Regions from separate parts of the Homo sapiens genome. Here regions 1, 3 and 4 are each linked to region 2. The links are contacts of gene promoters, found by promoter capture Hi-C in blood cells and fetal thymus (Javierre and others, 2016). All regions are on one chromosome and are shown on one strand. Each heading gives the region's core, a stretch centred on a gene start or on the middle of the fragment in contact. The rest is flanking DNA. Distances are from core to core; before and after follow the strand shown.

Evidence for each region. Contacts are between HindIII fragments. The CHiCAGO score rates a contact against its expected background, and 5 or more counts as called.
Region 1: a contact is called between a fragment that was not itself captured here and the fragment with the promoter of PPP2R5E in region 2, in 1 of 17 cell types (fetal thymus). The highest score is 5.0, in fetal thymus.
Region 3: a fragment that was not itself captured here is called in contact with the fragment with the promoter of PPP2R5E in region 2 in 1 of 17 cell types (erythroblasts); the score reaches 5.4 in erythroblasts.
Region 4: a fragment that was not itself captured here is called in contact with the fragment with the promoter of PPP2R5E in region 2 in 1 of 17 cell types (fetal thymus); the score reaches 9.8 in fetal thymus.

What each region holds. Positions count from the first base shown.
Region 1 is chr14:64,541,268-64,545,827 of GRCh38, forward strand. HSPA2 (heat shock protein family A (Hsp70) member 2) reads left to right here. Exons shown (of 1, transcript NM_021979.4): 1 at 1-1,970. The coding sequence ends at 1,502. Among named protein-coding and RNA genes, the nearest start is that of HSPA2, 2.8 kb to the left of the region's middle. The HindIII fragment of the contact is 580 bases long and covers 2,384-2,963 here.
Region 2 is chr14:63,540,182-63,544,974 of GRCh38, forward strand. It overlaps PPP2R5E (protein phosphatase 2 regulatory subunit B'epsilon), which reads right to left and starts at 3,196. Exons shown (of 14, transcript NM_006246.5): 1 at 2,598-3,196. It overlaps LOC112268140 (loricrin-like), which reads left to right and starts at 2,603. Exons shown (of 1, transcript NR_158218.1): 1 at 2,603-4,483. RefSeq lists silencers at 2,692-2,831, 2,872-3,011 and enhancers at 3,248-4,239, 3,302-3,511, 4,599-4,678. The HindIII fragment of the contact is 771 bases long and covers 2,603-3,373 here.
Region 3 is chr14:62,154,657-62,159,503 of GRCh38, forward strand. No RefSeq gene overlaps it. Among named protein-coding and RNA genes, the nearest start is that of LINC00644, 17 kb to the left of the region's middle. The HindIII fragment of the contact is 465 bases long and covers 3,263-3,727 here.
Region 4 is chr14:65,095,128-65,099,974 of GRCh38, forward strand. All of the region lies in intron 2 of MAX (MYC associated factor X), which reads right to left. Among named protein-coding and RNA genes, the nearest start is that of MAX, 5.0 kb to the right of the region's middle. The HindIII fragment of the contact is 1,125 bases long and covers 2,498-3,622 here.

The sequences.
Region 1 (4,560 bases), core at 1,424-3,923, 1.0 Mb after region 2:
TGCACAGCGCGGTCATAACGGTCCCGGCCTATTTCAACGACTCGCAGCGCCAGGCCACCAAGGACGCAGGCACCATCACGGGGCTCAATGTGCTGCGCATCATCAACGAGCCCACGGCGGCGGCCATCGCCTACGGCCTGGACAAGAAGGGCTGCGCGGGCGGCGAGAAGAACGTGCTCATCTTTGACCTGGGCGGTGGCACTTTCGACGTGTCCATCCTGACCATCGAGGATGGCATCTTCGAGGTGAAGTCCACGGCCGGCGACACCCACCTGGGCGGTGAGGACTTCGACAACCGCATGGTGAGCCACCTGGCGGAGGAGTTCAAGCGCAAGCACAAGAAGGACATTGGGCCCAACAAGCGCGCCGTGAGGCGGCTGCGCACCGCTTGCGAGCGCGCCAAGCGCACCCTGAGCTCGTCCACGCAGGCGAGCATCGAGATCGACTCGCTCTACGAGGGCGTGGACTTCTATACGTCCATCACGCGCGCCCGCTTCGAGGAGCTCAATGCCGACCTCTTTCGCGGGACCCTGGAGCCGGTGGAGAAGGCGCTGCGCGACGCCAAGCTGGACAAGGGCCAGATCCAGGAGATCGTGCTGGTGGGCGGCTCCACTCGTATCCCCAAGATCCAGAAGCTGCTGCAGGATTTCTTCAACGGCAAGGAGCTGAACAAGAGCATCAACCCCGACGAGGCGGTGGCCTATGGCGCCGCGGTGCAGGCGGCCATCCTCATCGGCGACAAATCAGAGAATGTGCAGGACCTGCTGCTACTCGACGTGACCCCGTTGTCGCTGGGCATCGAGACAGCTGGCGGTGTCATGACCCCACTCATCAAGAGGAACACCACGATCCCCACCAAGCAGACGCAGACCTTCACCACCTACTCGGACAACCAGAGCAGCGTACTGGTGCAGGTATACGAGGGCGAACGGGCCATGACCAAGGACAATAACCTGCTGGGCAAGTTCGACCTGACCGGGATTCCCCCTGCGCCTCGCGGGGTCCCCCAAATCGAGGTTACCTTCGACATTGACGCCAATGGCATCCTTAACGTTACCGCCGCCGACAAGAGCACCGGTAAGGAAAACAAAATCACCATCACCAATGACAAAGGTCGTCTGAGCAAGGACGACATTGACCGGATGGTGCAGGAGGCGGAGCGGTACAAATCGGAAGATGAGGCGAATCGCGACCGAGTCGCGGCCAAAAACGCCCTGGAGTCCTATACCTACAACATCAAGCAGACGGTGGAAGACGAGAAACTGAGGGGCAAGATTAGCGAGCAGGACAAAAACAAGATCCTCGACAAGTGTCAGGAGGTGATCAACTGGCTCGACCGAAACCAGATGGCAGAGAAAGATGAGTATGAACACAAGCAGAAAGAGCTCGAAAGAGTTTGCAACCCCATCATCAGCAAACTTTACCAAGGTGGTCCTGGCGGCGGCAGCGGCGGCGGCGGTTCAGGAGCCTCCGGGGGACCCACCATCGAAGAAGTGGACTAAGCTTGCACTCAAGTCAGCGTAAACCTCTTTGCCTTTCTCTCTCTCTCTTTTTTTTTGTTTGTTTCTTTGAAATGTCCTTGTGCCAAGTACGAGATCTATTGTTGGAAGTCTTTGGTATATGCAAATGAAAGGAGAGGTGCAACAACTTAGTTTAATTATAAAAGTTCCAAAGTTTGTTTTTTAAAAACATTATTCGAGGTTTCTCTTTAATGCATTTTGCGTGTTTGCTGACTTGAGCATTTTTGATTAGTTCGTGCATGGAGATTTGTTTGAGATGAGAAACCTTAAGTTTGCACACCTGTTCTGTAGAAGCTTGGAAACAGTAAAATATATAGGAGCTTAAATTGTTTATTTTTATGTACTACTTTAAAACTAAACTGAACATTGCAGTAATGTTAAGGACAGGTATACTTTTTGCAAACAAATGCATAAATGCAAATGTAAAGTAAAGCTGAAATTGATCTCAAAGTTACTGTCTTGGAGTTTTCAATTTTCCTTCCTTTATATTTTACCCATATTCGTCTTTTAAGATGTTAGTATGATGTGAAATTTATCTAACCAATCTTGTTTAATTCCCAGATGAGGGTGCTGCCTTGAATTCCAACAACTTAAGGGGAGAAGAATCTGGGTAAACTTCACCCACCCTTAAATACAGAAACCTGACTTGGGGTCTTCCTAGTGTACTCACACTCCTACAACTTAAGTGTCCAAATGAAAATTCACCTGAATATTCCAGGAAAATATGAGCTATATTCTGGGGTTAAATGTAAAATGAGCCTTTAACAAAAGCTGGGCAGAAGTTGTCTTATAATTGCCAAAGGAAATATGGAAACAAATTAATTTTGTGACATACAGGAGCCTGAAACAAGAGACAGCAGGCAAGCTTTCAAGTGACTTAATAGTGAGTATAAATTTAGTCAAACTTGTTTAATTTTCTAGTAAAACAGCTCAACTTCTGAGCTTATGGCAAATTCTAATAACATGTTTCCCGCAGTTAGAATTACTTGGGTAGGGAAACATAATTATTATTATTTTTTTCTGGTTTGGGGATCATAACGTTTTTGCAATACTTGCCTTAAATCACTACGATAGATTTCTTTTTTAAAAGGCAAACTGTACTAGATAGTCTTGTATTTTGTTAATATACAACTTGTCCATTTTCCTCCATATCCAATTTGAGATTGTTATAGATAAGAATATTGCAACCCTTTGGTGATCCACTATCCTGGACTTAATCTTTAAAATTCACATCCTTCAGAGAAAGGAATTCATTTTTATTTTTTAGTGAAATGACATGACTACTCTTTTCTTACTCTCTTTAAGGAGAACTTGAGAGAAATTCAGTAAAACCAATAGGAAAATGCATAGTTAACCTAATGTTTTTACTGCACATAGACGTTTTGATATCTTTCCACATGATGCAGGTTTGCTTCATGCTGCTCATAAGACAATAGTTATGAAAGCTTTATCTTCAATTTAGTAGTGGACCCATCTGTGTCATTCAGAGAGATTAATTTTATGAATAATGGAATGAGTAATAATTTTAAAACTAGCTAAGAAGTTAGCCTAAGAATACTGGCCTTTGGTAATGACCCTTTCATACAAGAGTTGACTCTTAAGTACACATAAGGTGTTTTTTTTTTTTTCCTTTTTAGCAAGCCTCATTTGGGTAGGGGGGAGGAAGATAAATAGCCAACAGTGAAATTGCTTCAACATAAAAACCTTTTTTTTTTTTTAAAGGAAACTGCTTTTTATACTCTGAAAAGCTAAAGATAACTCCAATTTATCAGTGCTGGTGTCACATTGGTGGAAATTTTTCAGCAATGAGCATTTAAGGGTGTTTCATGGACTACAGGCATAAATATGTGACAAACTACTATGGTACTACAAAATCAGGTTAATTGTAGCTTTAGAGTGACGTTTACTGTGAGTTTTACCAAGATAATACCCATTCTGTTACCCTTTTATTAGTCCTTTATTTGTTGAAAGTGTTCATTCCTTGCTCTAACTTCAAAATATAATGGAGTCCTTCTGTAAATGCAGTTTGGTATGACTCATTTTAGACCTCACTTAAGAGATTAGTTTCTAAAGTATCAGAAAATGACCATTGGTAGTTTTTGATCCTACGGCCTGACCTCCGGTAGCTTGCTATAATACTAACATCAATCTGGGCAGATACTTCATTTTCTATTTTGAAAAGTAATTTGTAAAACTCAAATTCTTGAGTTTTACATTCTTGAGCATTCTTGAGAGTGTTTCTTATTTAATTCTCTCTTTTCAAATTTACCAAGATTTGCATATTACCAAGATAAAGCCACCAAAGTAGCCATTCACTTTCCAGGGGTCAGTTGAAACTTGTAACCTGATAACTCCTGGGAACTCCTTAGCAGATGTTAGATCAGCCATAGTCAAATAACAGTGGAAAAAGTACTTGATGTTAGGATGGGGCTAAATTACAGTTTAAGGATTCTCCGACAGGCACTTATCTGAAATTCTTTTTTTTTTTTTTTTTTTGAGACGGAATTTCACTCTTGTTGCCCAGGCTGGAGTGCAATGGCTTGATCTCGGCTCACTTCAACCTCCGCCTCCTGGGTTCAAGCGATTCTCCTGCCTCAGCCTACCGAGTAGCTGGGATTACAGGCATGCACCACCACACCTGGCTAATTTTGTATTTTTAGTAGAGATGGGGTTTCTCCATGTTTGTCAGGCTGGTCTGGAACTCCCGACCTCAGGTGATCCGCCCGCCTTGGCCTCCCCAAGTGCTGGGATTACAGGCGTGAGCCACGCGCCAGCCCACTTACCTGAAATTCTTATCTGAATGTTTGATTAACATAGTTGTCCCTGTTTTGAGGGAACAAATATAGACACCTGTCAAACGAAGACATAACTAGTTGTTTACAGTATTTGAGATGTGTGAAATTTCAAAACAAACTCACTTTAAATTTTTTATAGTATTGATTTGATATGTATAATGAAAATGCATTAAAACTTGTACATTAGGAGATCTTAGTACAATTTACAACTGTTAATTTAACATGTATGTGTAATATTATGTTAC
Region 2 (4,793 bases), core at 1,946-4,445:
GCACTTTGGGAGGCCGAGGTGGGTGGATCACTTGAGGTCAGGAGTTCGAGACTAGCCTGGCCAACATGGTGAAACCCTGTGTCTACTAAAAATACAAAAATTAGCCAGGCGCAGTGGCATGCACCTGTAATCTCAGCTACTCAAGAGGCTGAGAAGGGAGAACCGCTTGAACCTGGGAGGCGGAGGTTGCGGTGAGCCAAGATGGCACCACTGCACTCCAGCCTGGGCAACAGAGCAAGAGTCCATCTCAAAAAAAAAAAAAAAAAAAGCCAGGCACAGTGGCACACACCCGTAATCCCAAGGCGGGCAGATAACTTCAGGTTGGGAGTTCGAGACCAGCCTGACCAACATGGAGAAACCCCATCTCTAATAAAAAAAAAAAAATACAAAAATTAGCCAGGCATGGTGGCGCATGCCTGTAATCCCAGCTACTCGGGAGGCTGAGGCAGGAGAATCACTTGAACCCGGGAGGCGGAGTTGTGGTGAGCCAAGATCATGCCATTGCACTCCAGCCTGGGCAGCAAGAGGAAAACTCCTTCTCAAAAAAAAAAAAAAGAAACAAACAAAGAAAAGAAAAGTCATATGTTAACAGGAAAACATGAAAATTTAGTGAAAATAATTTAAGTATCACGGAAACAATATGAGAACTCTAATGTATTGTGCCACTCCATTATAAGCATTAAAGATACTCATCTAGGCTTAAAGAAATCTATGCTGCCTGCCCATTTTCTAACTGCAAAGCTCTTCACATCTTCAAGTAATTTTTGGAGCTATTCTGTAACTGGAAAACTTCCATTGATACATTTTCCCAAGATACTTAATATTATGAATGGGTTCTGGAGTTGAAAAACCCTTAGTGTACTTCAAGAATCTATACCAATGTATCACAGCAAGGTGAAATTTACTACTACTGAAACTATCTAGGCATAACTTTTAATGGGATGTGCTATGTTAGCTATGATAAACTATACCACACTGCAAATGAGGACAGGCTAGATTACTTTAAACAAAACACATAAAAGGCATAATTAAAATATTTCAAATAAGTCTTCTTTTTGAATGAAGCCACCTTACGTTATTAACGCTTAATAAAAACTATGAGAAAATCAAGCACCAAAGTTGAACTGAAAACATAAATTCACAGCCTACTGAAACAACCAAGTTGAGTTCCCTTGAGGTTTAGACCTTGAAGTTCATCATCAAATACCAATTTTCATTCCATCAAACTTACGGAACTGAATAGCACTTTTGAATTGTTTAACCCTCTCGAGTTATTAAAATGAAGGCTATTTCCTGAAAGTAACAAGCGTTAAGCTTAATTTCATTCACCAAATTAAACAGATGCCATCATTTCCATGGCACTGAGGCTTCATGCAAGACTAATGGCAGACTCGGATAGAAAGAATGCATATGGGGGAAATGCTGAAATGCAATTACTCACCTGTCATTCCAATAGACAAGACAAGTGGTTTTTAACTTCTAAATAAAACAGTAAGGGAATTTCTTCCTGAACACGTGAGAATAAAAAGTTACCTGGATTACGTGGATTTTGACAATGTAAAAATAACAAAAACATTTTAAAACACATGCACACATATGATGTTGACGTTTGGAATTTGGAAGTCTTCTTTGGTTTTCTTTAAAAAAAAAAAAGTTTTTAAAAATCTACCTAATTTAGCCTTAATATAATGTGATGGATTCAAAATAGAATCACAAACTATGAATGACTATAGATGTTAAGATCACTTTAAAATATCAAAATGACTGCATCAGCCAAAAGCTCCACATCTTATTTGTACGTTGTAAATTTAGGGGCCGATTTTCCATTCGGGTATGTGAATTATTTAGACTTCACTCTAACTCTAACACTACAACATTTCAGTAAATCCTCTTCCTCCATCACTCTTTTCGTCTCTTCTTTATTCCTTATCTCTCATCTCTACAGACGATATATAGGTAGCTTTTAAAAAAATCATTTACCCCTTATGCCCGAGGCCCAGAATAAACGTCAAGGATCGCAACCCTGAAGCACTGCAAAACTGAACGTAAGGTAACAGCGGGTCCGTGCAAAGCCCAGGGAAACAGGTTTCGCCCTGGGCCAGGGCTCCCGAAGCTTTATCATCCTCTAATCAGCAGGCATGGGGCATTTCCATGGCTCAGGATAATCCAAAGGGGGTAAGGGGAAGTAGGGAAAGACAGGGAAGGGGTTTGTCTGTGGGGATGCTTACATACTCCCTTTGCTCCTAACCCACACCCCAAGCCCTGGAGACGATAAGCTGCTAGAGAATCCTCCTCACACCAAACCCCTCTTTATTCCCCGCCCCCGCCAGTGGATAAAGGGGGGCAAGAAAACGCCTCCAATCCCAGAAGGTGGAGAAAAAGGGGGGAGGGGGCAGAGTGAATGAGAGGTATCATCAGAAGCATTTGTAGGTAAATCAGACAAGTGGGACGGGCGCTCCCGCTCCCGCACCCCACCCCACCGCACCCCTCGCCTGCCCGGCCAGGCCTTCCCAAGGCCGGTGCCCCATAGGTTCCCCAGGAGGACCGGGAGGAAGAAGGGAAGCGGGCGAGCCGCGGTGCTGGAGGGACTAAGTTACCTTGAAGCTTCTGGGGAAGAATCCAAAGATGATCTGTGGCTTGGAGGGGCGGGAGACGGGCGAGGTGGCCGCAGCGGGGGCGGGCGGCGGGACCGGGACGTGCAGGGGGAGGTCCGGGCAGCTGCGGGGAGCCTGGGGCGACGGCTGTCCGGTACGGGGTCCCTCCGGTTCCGCGGCGGCGGAGCCTCTAGGCCTCACGGCCGGACCCGAACCTCAGCGTTCCGGTGGCGGCGGCGGCCTCACGATCCTCCCCCGCGGGCCCGTCCCATCAAATCGGCACCGACCCCGTTGCGGCTCCGCCGGTGGCTCCTCGCTCACATTCCTGGCGGGCGGCGCCTCAGCTCGTTGCCCCGGACCCGGCGGCGGCGGCGACGACGTGGGGAGGGGGGGAAGGGAGGGAGGAAGACTGGATCTGCAGCGGCAGCAAGAGAAGGGGACAGAATAAGGAGGAGGAGCCGCAGGAGCTGGAGCCGCCGCTGCCAGAGCCACCTTTCGCTACCCGCGGTGGGTCCCAGTCAATGCCCCTTTCTCTCTCCTATTGTCAATATCACCGGGCGGCTGAGTCCATGGCACACGCGCAACCGAACCTTCTGGCCAGCAGCGCCCGCCTCCGGCGCCCGCCCACTGGAGACTTCAAACGGGAAGCGAGGCCTCATTGGCCAGTATCCGCCTTCACTCCCCTGACAGCATGTTCGGCTGAGACCTGATCAGGGATTGGCGGCAGGAGGGCGGAGAAACGGGAGGGTGGGAAGAGAGAAGGTCGAGGATTGGGCCGAAGCTTGAGGAACCCGGATGCAGCCGCGATCTCGGGCGGTGCAGCCGCCGCTTCCGCCCGGCAGTGGGGCAAGCTGAAGTGAGAAGCCGCTGGGCCTGAGAGGAGCTCTTTAATTCCGGGAGGTGTGCGACTAGCGGATCAGCGGGCTGGCTTTCCGTGCTGTGCGGAGCCTTTGGGCGGCGGTCGTCTTGGACCGGAGGATTCCAAGGGCTCGGGTCGTCTAAGGGTCGGGGAGCCCCGGAGACTTGATCCCGCCCTGCAGCTAGTGTGGCCCCTCAGGGTTTGGGGAGTCCCACTCTGGACGGGACCCTGTGATGCGTAGGCAGGAATAAGATCCCCCGCCCGTGCCGGTGTGCCACTGCTTGTGTAAATGGGCCCCTTGAAACCCCCAGCAGTCGCTCTCCGCTGAACCTTCTTCGAATTTTCTCTCACCTCATCTCCTTTTCCTTAAACGTCTGTTTTGAATATCAGACCCCTGTAGCGTTGAAGCCAGCGCTCGTTTAATTAATGCAGGTGGGAACGCTGTCGCCACAGTTTGCAGTCTATTCATTCAGAATAACCCGCCAGTCAGCCGACTGCTCAGAGCTCGGAAAGACCCAGCTCCAAACTAGGAGTTTCGAGATTTTAATTGGCAAGTTGGACCCGAAAGAGTTAATGGAGAAGACTACTTAAATCTATCTAGAACAAGTGATGAGATATTTGGAGATGTGTTTGCATGCTTGGTGAATGCAGACGGCCAAATGGTACATTTCCAGATAATATTCTTGGATTAATGTATTTGAATGCACCCTACGTACATTTTTTGAGAGGAAAAAAGGAAGAAAGAAATTATTAATGCTAACTACAAACGTCAGAGTACCAGTTGTTCAAAACTTAGAAATTGGGGGGGGGGACAAAAAAATTAACATTCTTATTTTCTCAACTCAGAGATAACCACTTACAGTATTTGCATACTTCCTTTTAGTATTTTTTCTCTTTATGTTAATAATGTGTGTCGATCTGTAGCCTAGTTTTTTCCCTCAGCATTATATCATCTTTTCGATACGGTTAGGGAATAGAGCTATATATAAATAAAACTATATGTACCATATGTACAAGTGACAACGAAAAATGCATTTGCATTTCTCCTGTTTGTGTTGTTAAACACTAGAGTTTTGAAATTTTCTTTGCACACTCCCAGAAATGGCTCTTGAGTGGAAAAATAATTTTGTGCCATGAAAGATAAAAATATTCCTGCTTTGAACTGAAATGGAAAACGAAAAGATGACTCTTAGATGGAAGCAGTCTCCCCCTACTGACTCCAGATGATTGGCCACTGTATGGCTAGTGCCCACTTTTGCCGTGATAAAGTTCATCACCACTAAGTATGAACTATAGAATACCAGCAGTCTAGTTCCTACCCTCAAGAACCTTAAATTTTC
Region 3 (4,847 bases), core at 2,245-4,744, 1.4 Mb before region 2:
ATCTCAGTGAAATAATTTTTTTGGAGAAATTATAAATAACCAAAATGAAATGGAGGTGAAATTGATAAGCTGAAGAAGCAAAAACTTTAAAAATTATCAAAGTATTAATTACAAAAAAATTGGTGGGGCTAGATATTCTTACCAATTTGAATTATTTCAAGCATTGAAGACATAGTATATCAACTGTTAAATAGTGTAGAAAAAGATAAAAAGCTTTCCATTCATTTGTAGTTTGTATTTTTATTGTTTTCAACTTTTAGATACAGAGGGTACATGTGTAGGTTTGTTTCATAGGTATATTGCACCCTGGTAGTGAGCAGAGTATCCAATAGGTAGTTTTTGACCCTTGCTTCCTCCCTCCCCTGTCTAGTAGTATGCAGCGTTCCCATATTTATGTCCATGGGTGCTCAATGTTCAGCTCCCACTTATAAGTGAGAATATGCGGCATTTAGTTTTCTGTGCCAATGTTAATTTGCTTAGGATAATGGCCTCCAGCTACATCCATGTTGCTGCAGAGGACACAAGTTCATTCTTTGTATGGCTGCATAGTACTCCCTGGTGCCTATGTACCACATTTTCTTTATCCAATCCACCATTGATAGGCACCTAGGTTGATGCCATGTCTTTGCTATTGTGAAGTGTGGAACTACTACTATAAGTGCATGTCTGTTTTTGGTATAATTATCTATTTTCCTTTGGGTATATACCTAGTAATGGGATTGCTGGGTTAAATGGTAGCTCTGTTTTAAGTTCTTTGAGACATCTCCAAACTGCTTTCCACAGTGGCTGAACTAATTTACATTCCTACTAATGGCATATAAGTGTTCCCTTTTCTCCACAGCCTCACCATCATCTGTTGTTTTTGACTTTATAATAACTCCAGTTTATTTTTAAATTTAGGGAAATTCTGACAACAAATCCAGTCAAATATAACATAGACAGGAAAAACAGAACAAATTCTATACATGCAGTTGTCAAATACTAAATTCAGCAGTAAATTAAGAGACTAATGTATCAAGACCAAATGAGTTTTATTTTGGAGATATAAGGATGTTTCAACTAAAAAAGCTAGAAATAAGGCATATTATCTTAATAAAGGAAGAACATGAAATATTTCCAGTTTCTGATAAAAACCAATCTCTCAGTAAACTAGAAGTGTAAGATGTTTTTAACAAGATAATGAATATCATTCTATGTTTCCAATTCTACATTATGTACTTAATAATGAAATAACGGAAACATGTCCTCCATAATTAGTAGTGCACTAAGCATGCCCACTATGACTACTTTTATTTACTGTTGCCCTGGAATTTCTAGGTATGGGTACAGAAAATGTAGACGTTATTAGTTTTAGATAGTATTATTCCCATGGACACAACACAAAAAATCCATTAAAAAACCATTAGCTATAATAAGAAACTTTAATTAAGTGACGGATTTAAAAGTAGAGGAATAAAAGCTTTTCTATTAAGTAGTAACTATCAGCTAGGAAAAAGAATAATGAAATAAGGATACCATTCAGAATGCAATAAAAGTACAAATAAATATTTGATATAACAGTCATTCAGGGTATCCTATTTCATGGATTTACCCTAACACAACAGGACACCTGAGAGAGATGAACCATATTTTTATATGGGGAGTGTGACTACCATAAACATATCATTTTTTCCAGGCTAATGTATATGTTTAATGAAATTCTAATAAAACCTCCTTTAAAAAACCTTTCAGCAATATGATTCTGGTGTCATTCTGACCTTCTAAATGAACAAAGCTATGGGGATGAATTTATTTATTTTTTTGGGGGGGATGGAGTCTTGCTCTGTCACCAGGCCGGAGTGCAGGGGCGTGATCTCGGCTCGCTGCAACCTCCGCCTCCCAGGTTAAAGCGATTCTCCTGCCTCGGCCTCCTGAGTAGCTGGGACTACAGGCGTGCACCACCATGCCCAGTATTTTTTGTATTTTTAGTAGAGACGGGGTTTCACCATGTTGGCCAGGATGGCCTTGATCTCTTGACCTCGTCATCCACCCAACCCGGCCTCCCAAAGTGCTGGGATTACAGGCATGAGGCACCATGATCAGCCGGATAATAAAATTGTGAAGAGAGAGAGCAAGGAGAAAATATTTGCTGAACCAATCACCGAACATTATTATAAAGCCATAGTAATTAAAAATAGGATGCCACAGGAGCTGAGAGTAACGGGATCTAATAACAGTAAATAAACAAACACATATATATGTACACACACACATATAATAAAGGTGGCTTCACAGAGGAAGAGTTACTCAATCAATTATATTAAGGGAATAACATTGTGTACAATAAATGGTAGCCGAAGAGAGAGAAACATGAAACAAAGAGGTGTGGAGCCAATGATCAGTATGTTACCAAAGAGATGAACATGTCCCAGGAAGCCTGGGCTGGGAAGATGGGGACAGAGTCTGGGATGTCAGCACAGAAGGAGCTTTGCATATGTCATAAGTGTAGGCACAGGAGTTGCTCCGTAGTCAGGGAGAGTAGGTGGTAGAATTCAGAGCCCCAGACAAGGGCTTGAAAATAATAAGTGATAGAGAAACTAGTCGTTTGAATTATATATTCTCACTTATAAGTGGGAGCTAAGCTATGAGGATGCAGAGGCATAAGAATAATCTAATGGGCTTTGGGGACTAGGTGGCAGGGAAGCGGGTGGAGGGGCAAGGGATAAAAGACTACATACTGGGGACAGTGTACACTGCTCGGGTGATGGGTGCACCAAAATCTCAGAAATCACCACTAAAGAACATATCCATGTAACAAAAAACCACCTGTACACCCAAAACTATTGAAATAAAAATAAAAATTAAAAACTCAATACAACAATTAAAAAATGAACAAAAACCAATACAGTTAAAAAAAAAAAGAAAAAAGCAAAAGAAACTAGTCATTTAGAGCAGTAGCCGAGGCACACAAAGATTGGTGTTAGGTGTTAGAGCCTATTGTTTCTTCATTGCTCATTGATACATTCATCAGTATAGTCTCAAGGACCCCTGGTTGAAATCTCTGCTCTTCTATTTACTAATCATAAAATGGAAAACTTATTTAGTCACCCTGAGCCTCAGTTTCCTTATGTATAAAATGAGAATGATAGTACTTGCTTCATAGAATTATAAGGATTAAATTGAATATATATATATAATGCAGATGATTAAGTAACATTTATGTAGAACTTAATATTTGCCAGGCATTTTCTAATATATACATACATATCGTGAACTATTATTAAGCTTCTTCCGTGGGGTACATGTGGGTGGAGAGACACTGAAGTAGAAATGCCTTGTAGATAAATGGAAAGATTCTAAACATCCCCAAGGGTGCTGTATTTTGCTGAGTAAAATGCCAGATCTTAGATCTTGTAAATCTTGTCACATTTGAGACCCCAGCCACCATGGTTTCTGGGACCAACTTAATGACTGATTCTACACTCTCTCGGTTTTGTGGTAACTAGCTCTGATTTGTGCGTGAGAAACACACACACACACACACACACACACACACACACACAAACAACACAGCCGATGAGGAATAGGTGAGCACTGGAGATTATTCCTCTCATCATCAGTGCAGATGTCCACAGAAATTCCCTGAGGGTCTTTAAATTCGAGCTTTTGGTCACTGAATTCAGGCAGGCATTTATAAGAGATTTTTAGGCTTTTCCATTATTTTTCCTGTGATTTGTCTTTTAAAATAAGCTTTTATAGTAGACGCCTATGTTATTTTTCCTCCATCAGATGAAAATGATTATCTTTGTGAATTGTACTCTCCACTTGATTATCCCCTTCCCACTTTCCTGGGTGTAGCAGAACATCCTCTGAGGTCACTTAAGGGAATACATCTTTTACTAATGGCTCGTTGTACATGAGGGAACTGGATTGCCTGTCTGTTTGTTTAGTTTTACATTCTGGAACAGTTTTCTTGACAGAAAATAGTCATTTTTTTATGTATGAATCAGATATCAGGGCTATTTACCAAGTGAATCCATTTTTCATATCCCAGAAGAAAGAAAATGTATTTTAAAATAAGGTTATTGTAACTTTTGCTTGTATGTATAATTGATGTAGTTTTGGGTAACACATATCTATAATGCACACTAACAAAAAAGGGAAAAAATGAGGATGTGACATATAAACTACACTTTAAGTACAGCAGTGCATGTGATCACATTGTTAACAGAAATTGTGTCAATATTAACAACTGCTCAGCTCAGTGGTGGGCAGCCCAGCCCAAATCTGGTATAACTGTCTGTTTAGTTTATCAGTCTTGGCTATCAAGTCTCCTGACGTAACAAAACCACCCATGACAGCTGACCACATTGAATATCCAGATAAGGACTCGGGGAAAATTGAGCTGACTACTTTGATCATACCAGAACAGTTAAGATTAATCTCACTGGGAAATGCATGTAATCAATTTCTCATTTGTTCCTATAAATTAAAATGAACATAGTTTGTTTTCCCAGGGTCAAGATGATGGCATACATGCAAATTTGTATCCAGTTCTTTTCACTTAACATTACAACAAAAATTCTCCTGTCATTACTGGCTTTTGAAAAACATCCTTTGGTGTAAATATTTATTCAATTAGAGGGAAAATAATGTTATATTTTTGTTGGAAATTTAAATGATTTTAATTTTTTGGTATTACAGATAGTACTTTTATCAATATCATACATAAAGCCTTTTCAGTTTTCTCATGATAGGTTTATAAAAGTGGAATTTTAAAGTCAAATACATTTATAAGACTCTGGATAGATACTCTCAACTTATTCTTCAAAATGGTTACATTGTAGAATCTGAAAATGCTTACGTCA
Region 4 (4,847 bases), core at 1,810-4,309, 1.6 Mb after region 2:
CAGTCATTACAGAGGAAGAGGAGACTGGGAGCACCTGTAGTCATCTGAGTTACTTCCTGGTCTCTTAAACATAATACCTCACCTACAGCTCTGTTGAACTGGACATGTGGTTCCCATGACAACCATGGTTCTCCATAGCATATCTCTCTTTTTGGGGCAGATGCCTGGAGCACTTCTAAAGTTGTCCTAATCTTGTTAAGTCTGGATTCACTGTAAAATGAATGTTTACTGAACTATAGTGACATGAAATATGAAGCTGAGAGGACAGTCAAGTTTGGAACACCACATAACCTGAGGGTAGAGGTAGGTACTCTGTATCATACAACTTTAGCGCAAAATTATAGATGCCTTCTAACAGTAGCATGAAATAGTGCGACAGAATTGAACCTATTTAAGTATCTAGTCCTTTTGAACTTACTGTTGTTCCCTCTGATCATCTACATAAAGATAAGTTGGGCTGCGACTATACCTAAGGAGCTTAAAGGCCAAGAGACAATATTTGGCATGTGTCTGCGGCTCCTGTTTGCTATATACTACCTAAGGTGGTTTATTTACATGCAAATTAATTGCCCATCTTTGGTCTCCAGAGCAGCCCAAGATACTCCTGTCTACTAAATCACCCTGATTCTTGGCCCTCCTCCCAGCTAAGAGCTGTGCACCAGAATTACCCACAATCCCTCTTGTTGATACAAATAAAATTCTAATTGTCTGTTTTCTTTCTGGGAGAGCCCTGCAAATCTCAAACAGCTAGAATGAAGTTGCACTTGGTTTCACGTGGACCTGCACTAAAGGGGTGGAGCTAAGTATAATCTAACACCAAAATCATCCCCACAATGCACTACCCCCTCCCATTCACTGAGCTCTGAAAGGACTCAAATGGACAAGTCTCTCGGTTGGAGGATTGTAAGTGAACTTGGCTGTAGATCATGAGCAGAAATCTTGGCTTCTCATCTGGGGAGCCAGCCAAGTTTGAGAAGTTGGCTCAACAAGGAAAGGCAGCAGTCCACTGCCTGGTAGAAAGCCTGGGCTGGGGACTGTTGTTCTCAAAGTAGTGGATGGAATTTCTGTAGTGGTTCCAGGCCCAATTTAACTAGCAGAAGAGTGGAATCTTACACCAATCCCTGCTGCCATGTCCATCCCTGAGCTACTAGTGGAGTCAATTTTAAATCTCTCAGAGACAATGGCAAGGATGTATTTTTCTCTTCCCCAAGCTTGATTTGAAAGAACAAGTTAAAAACATGCAGAACTAACAAGCCTAATTCCAGGCAACTGTGAATTAAATGTTATCACTAATGTTTTGAAAGAGCACATGAAAAACAGAAAAACCTTTACACAAGGCTGAGAATTCTCTGTGGGAAACATTTCCAAACCACAGATCCACCCAGACCAATAACACTGCCCGCGCCTCATCCCCACCCCCATTGGAGGACTAGTTTGCAGGCTTTATCACTGCCTTGTTAACTGTCTTTGCTTGCTGGCAACCCTTTTTGAGAGGGCCAAGATTTCAGAGTTGAAGAAGAAAAACTGGGTGAAGACTCCCAGTGTAAGGCATCTAATATCCTCCCCCAAATGCAAAACTGGTTTTAAAAAACAAGCCCAAACAATTGTCTTGAACAAATAAAACTCTACTCAGATGAGCCTGTACTGAGAATGATGTTCAGTAATGAAAACAAATGGTACGGAAAACCCCCTTGTGGAATTAATTAGGCCCTATTCTAGGAGACCACAGAGGTATTCTTGGACTGTACAGCAGGCTCCCAAACATCTCCCCTACACATCCTATGGTTACAGTGGCTGGATGCTGCCCACTCTTCTAGTACGCTGGATTTGTACGTCTGGATGTCTGCCAGAAAACCCTTCCTCCAGGGCATCCCTAACAGAAATACTAAGGGGCTATGCAGTGGTCCACAGATGCTCAACAGAAACTCCCGCACCAAATCACTTCCAGCTTTGACATCTCTGCCAAAGTTTTTATTCAGCCTCTCAGTTATATTTCTACCCAACTTTCCACACTGGTAGACAGAATAAAAATCTTCACCTACAATTTGTCCATCTTTGACACTACCAAGCACGTGTATCTTAAGTGTTGTTAGATGTTGAAGACAAACATTATTTTGTTAGCCAAGAAGTTGCTATGTTGGCAAGAAGTCATCTAGGCTAAGGAGGTCTGTTCAAAATTGAGGGAAATCTCTTAAAATTATTTCCTTCCAACTTACTGCAGAGAGACTGCATCTTTGTTCAAGGCATCACATCAGTCAGTAATCTTATTTCCTCCAAGTTCTAGGCAAATAGCACGGGGAAATAAATGCTTCATTATTCCAGGATGCACAAGGTTCTCCAGAACAATGCCATGTCTTACAGGCTACCTGACAGCTAACCCCACCTATAAGGGGAACCATCTCAATTCTAATACAGAAAATTCTCAGCATATAGGGAATTAGTTGCCCACTCAATATTTACTACCTTTACAAAATGTGAAGGTTGTATTTTAGAGGGAAGCTTGTGTTGCTTATGATTCTTATCAAGCTATTCTTATTAGAGACTAAGGACACGAGAATACACAGACCCAAAAATCTCATCCGAAAAGATCTATTTCTTACTTCTGATAGATAAGAACAAGATAGGATAAAGCTCAATTTCTAAGCAACTTAAAATATTCATTTTAATCAACCCAAAAATTATAACATAAAATAATAGGCAGGTAGGATGGGATAAACTCACCAAGCTCCCTAAGAGAAAGACATGGATTTCAATTTTCCAATACCTGTCCTGCTTGTAGCTGATTGCCTGGTATACATTTCCAACATTATCTAATGTATGTATTTGTTTTCAAACTTTTTTCTTTTGGTGCCTAAAATAACTGGCAAATGCTATAATCCAAACAGGGCCTCATACTATAGCCATTTCAGAGAAGGATGCCTTGGTCAGGAAATTTTAATTAAAAACCAAGCTGAATTCTTTGACCAACTATTTCACCGTTACTGGCATCTTGGAAAAATTCTTTTAGACATAAGAACAACTTTTACCCTAACACAGGCACATTTAGGAACTAACTCTGGCATTTGTTATCACTGTAAGCATCACTGTCAACACTCTAAGCAGAGAAAAAGTACATGCATTGTGCAGCACTTTTGCCATGCAACTGACTGCAGGTAAAACAGACAGTAGTTTCCTGAGTGAATTCCAATCTCGGAGGCTACCAAGCTCGTTCTCTTCTGAATATTCCTAAAGAAGCAAAGAGCTCTGAGAAGTTAAAAATATTTCATGCCAGAAAGGTCCAGAAGTGGAATTGCACAAATCTGTTTTCAAACCCCTCACAAGTATACTGCAACTGCAACTCAGTCAGGTGCCATCAAGGATGGTCACTGGAAAAAAAATTGCATTTCCTGACCAACACACTAACCCATACATTTCCTGTATACTTACACTCTTTCCTAAAGAAATTTCCCAAACAGAAATAAAGCAAAAGGAAGCCCTTGCAATATAATATACCTGTCCCACAAATTTATCTTTAAAATGCAACCTCTTCCCTCCAAAATATAATAAAAATAACATCAGTGGGATTTTGCGATGTACTGAATTTAGTAGTAAGAATACTCTTTGGGGTTACTTCCTTTAACAAAGCTTACTGGCCATTGGAGAAGCTGTTTTCCGTTTGTACTGAAGCAATAGAAAAAAATATTTGCCAAATCAGTTTCACTTTCTGTTAGAGTTAGCCTAACTTCCTAACTCTCTTCTCAGTATCTTACATTTCTCATGTAGTAAGGCCTATATATTGTAGTGACATTATAAAACATACATGAATGTTTTTATATTAGGATCCACAGAACCCTTTTCAAATAACTTTTTCAACATCTTCTGTAGTCCTGAATACCTAAGTATTTGGTTGTTCACAGTCCACATCTTTTTTTAAACCTTTTTTCTAAGGCAAAACTTAAGAATAGCTCCCTCTTAAATTTTAAAAAATATATTTATTATCCATATTAAATATTGAGAAGTAAGCAGATGCATTCACAGAGGGGAAAAAATGGAATCCTTTTTACCCTACACAGTCACAATAGTTGTTTGATATACTATAAAATTTGTTTATAACATATCTGCTTTTTCTCTCCATGCTGTTGTAATTACATTGTGCAGAGTAATATTTAGAAATATCAACAAATAGATGTGTTAAATTAAAAACAAAGTGTCAAACCAACTTCCTTTGCCTACCCCCAAAATCAAAAGGAAAAATCCTAGGCACCTTAACAGCAAACTAAAAACATCTAGACAAAACAATGAGATTAGCATTCCAGGAAAGCAGAAACATTATAATAATTTAATAACAAATTTATATCAACGATCATATGGATGAAAATTTTGAAAAGCAGAAAGCTTTCAAGAACTGCGAGCCAAAATTTCACCAAAAAAACAAACAAACAAACAAACAAACAAAAAAAACACAACTTTCTCTTACTGGGAAGTCAGTATAATTTCAATTCAAAGGATAATTCTGCAAAGGAAGGCTAAACGATCCTTACCCTCCAGCTCTGATCAAGCCCTAGCACAGATTTTACAACTGGAGACTTGCAGGGAAAAAAAAAGTTTTCAACAGACTAGGCCCCAAACATGAAGGATAAAAGTAAATGTGAAAAAGGAATTCAATTTTCAAATATATGCATAAGTATATGAGAATACTTCAAGGATAAATAAAATAAAACAAATTATCTTTAATGACTATTACCCAGGGATAATTTTTAAGACTTTTGGAACAACTACATCCCCGGATTTTATGGAAATATCAGCTCTCAATAAATAAGTTTTCTTAATGCCTATCTGCTTAGACAACCTGCACAATCTTTGCTTGC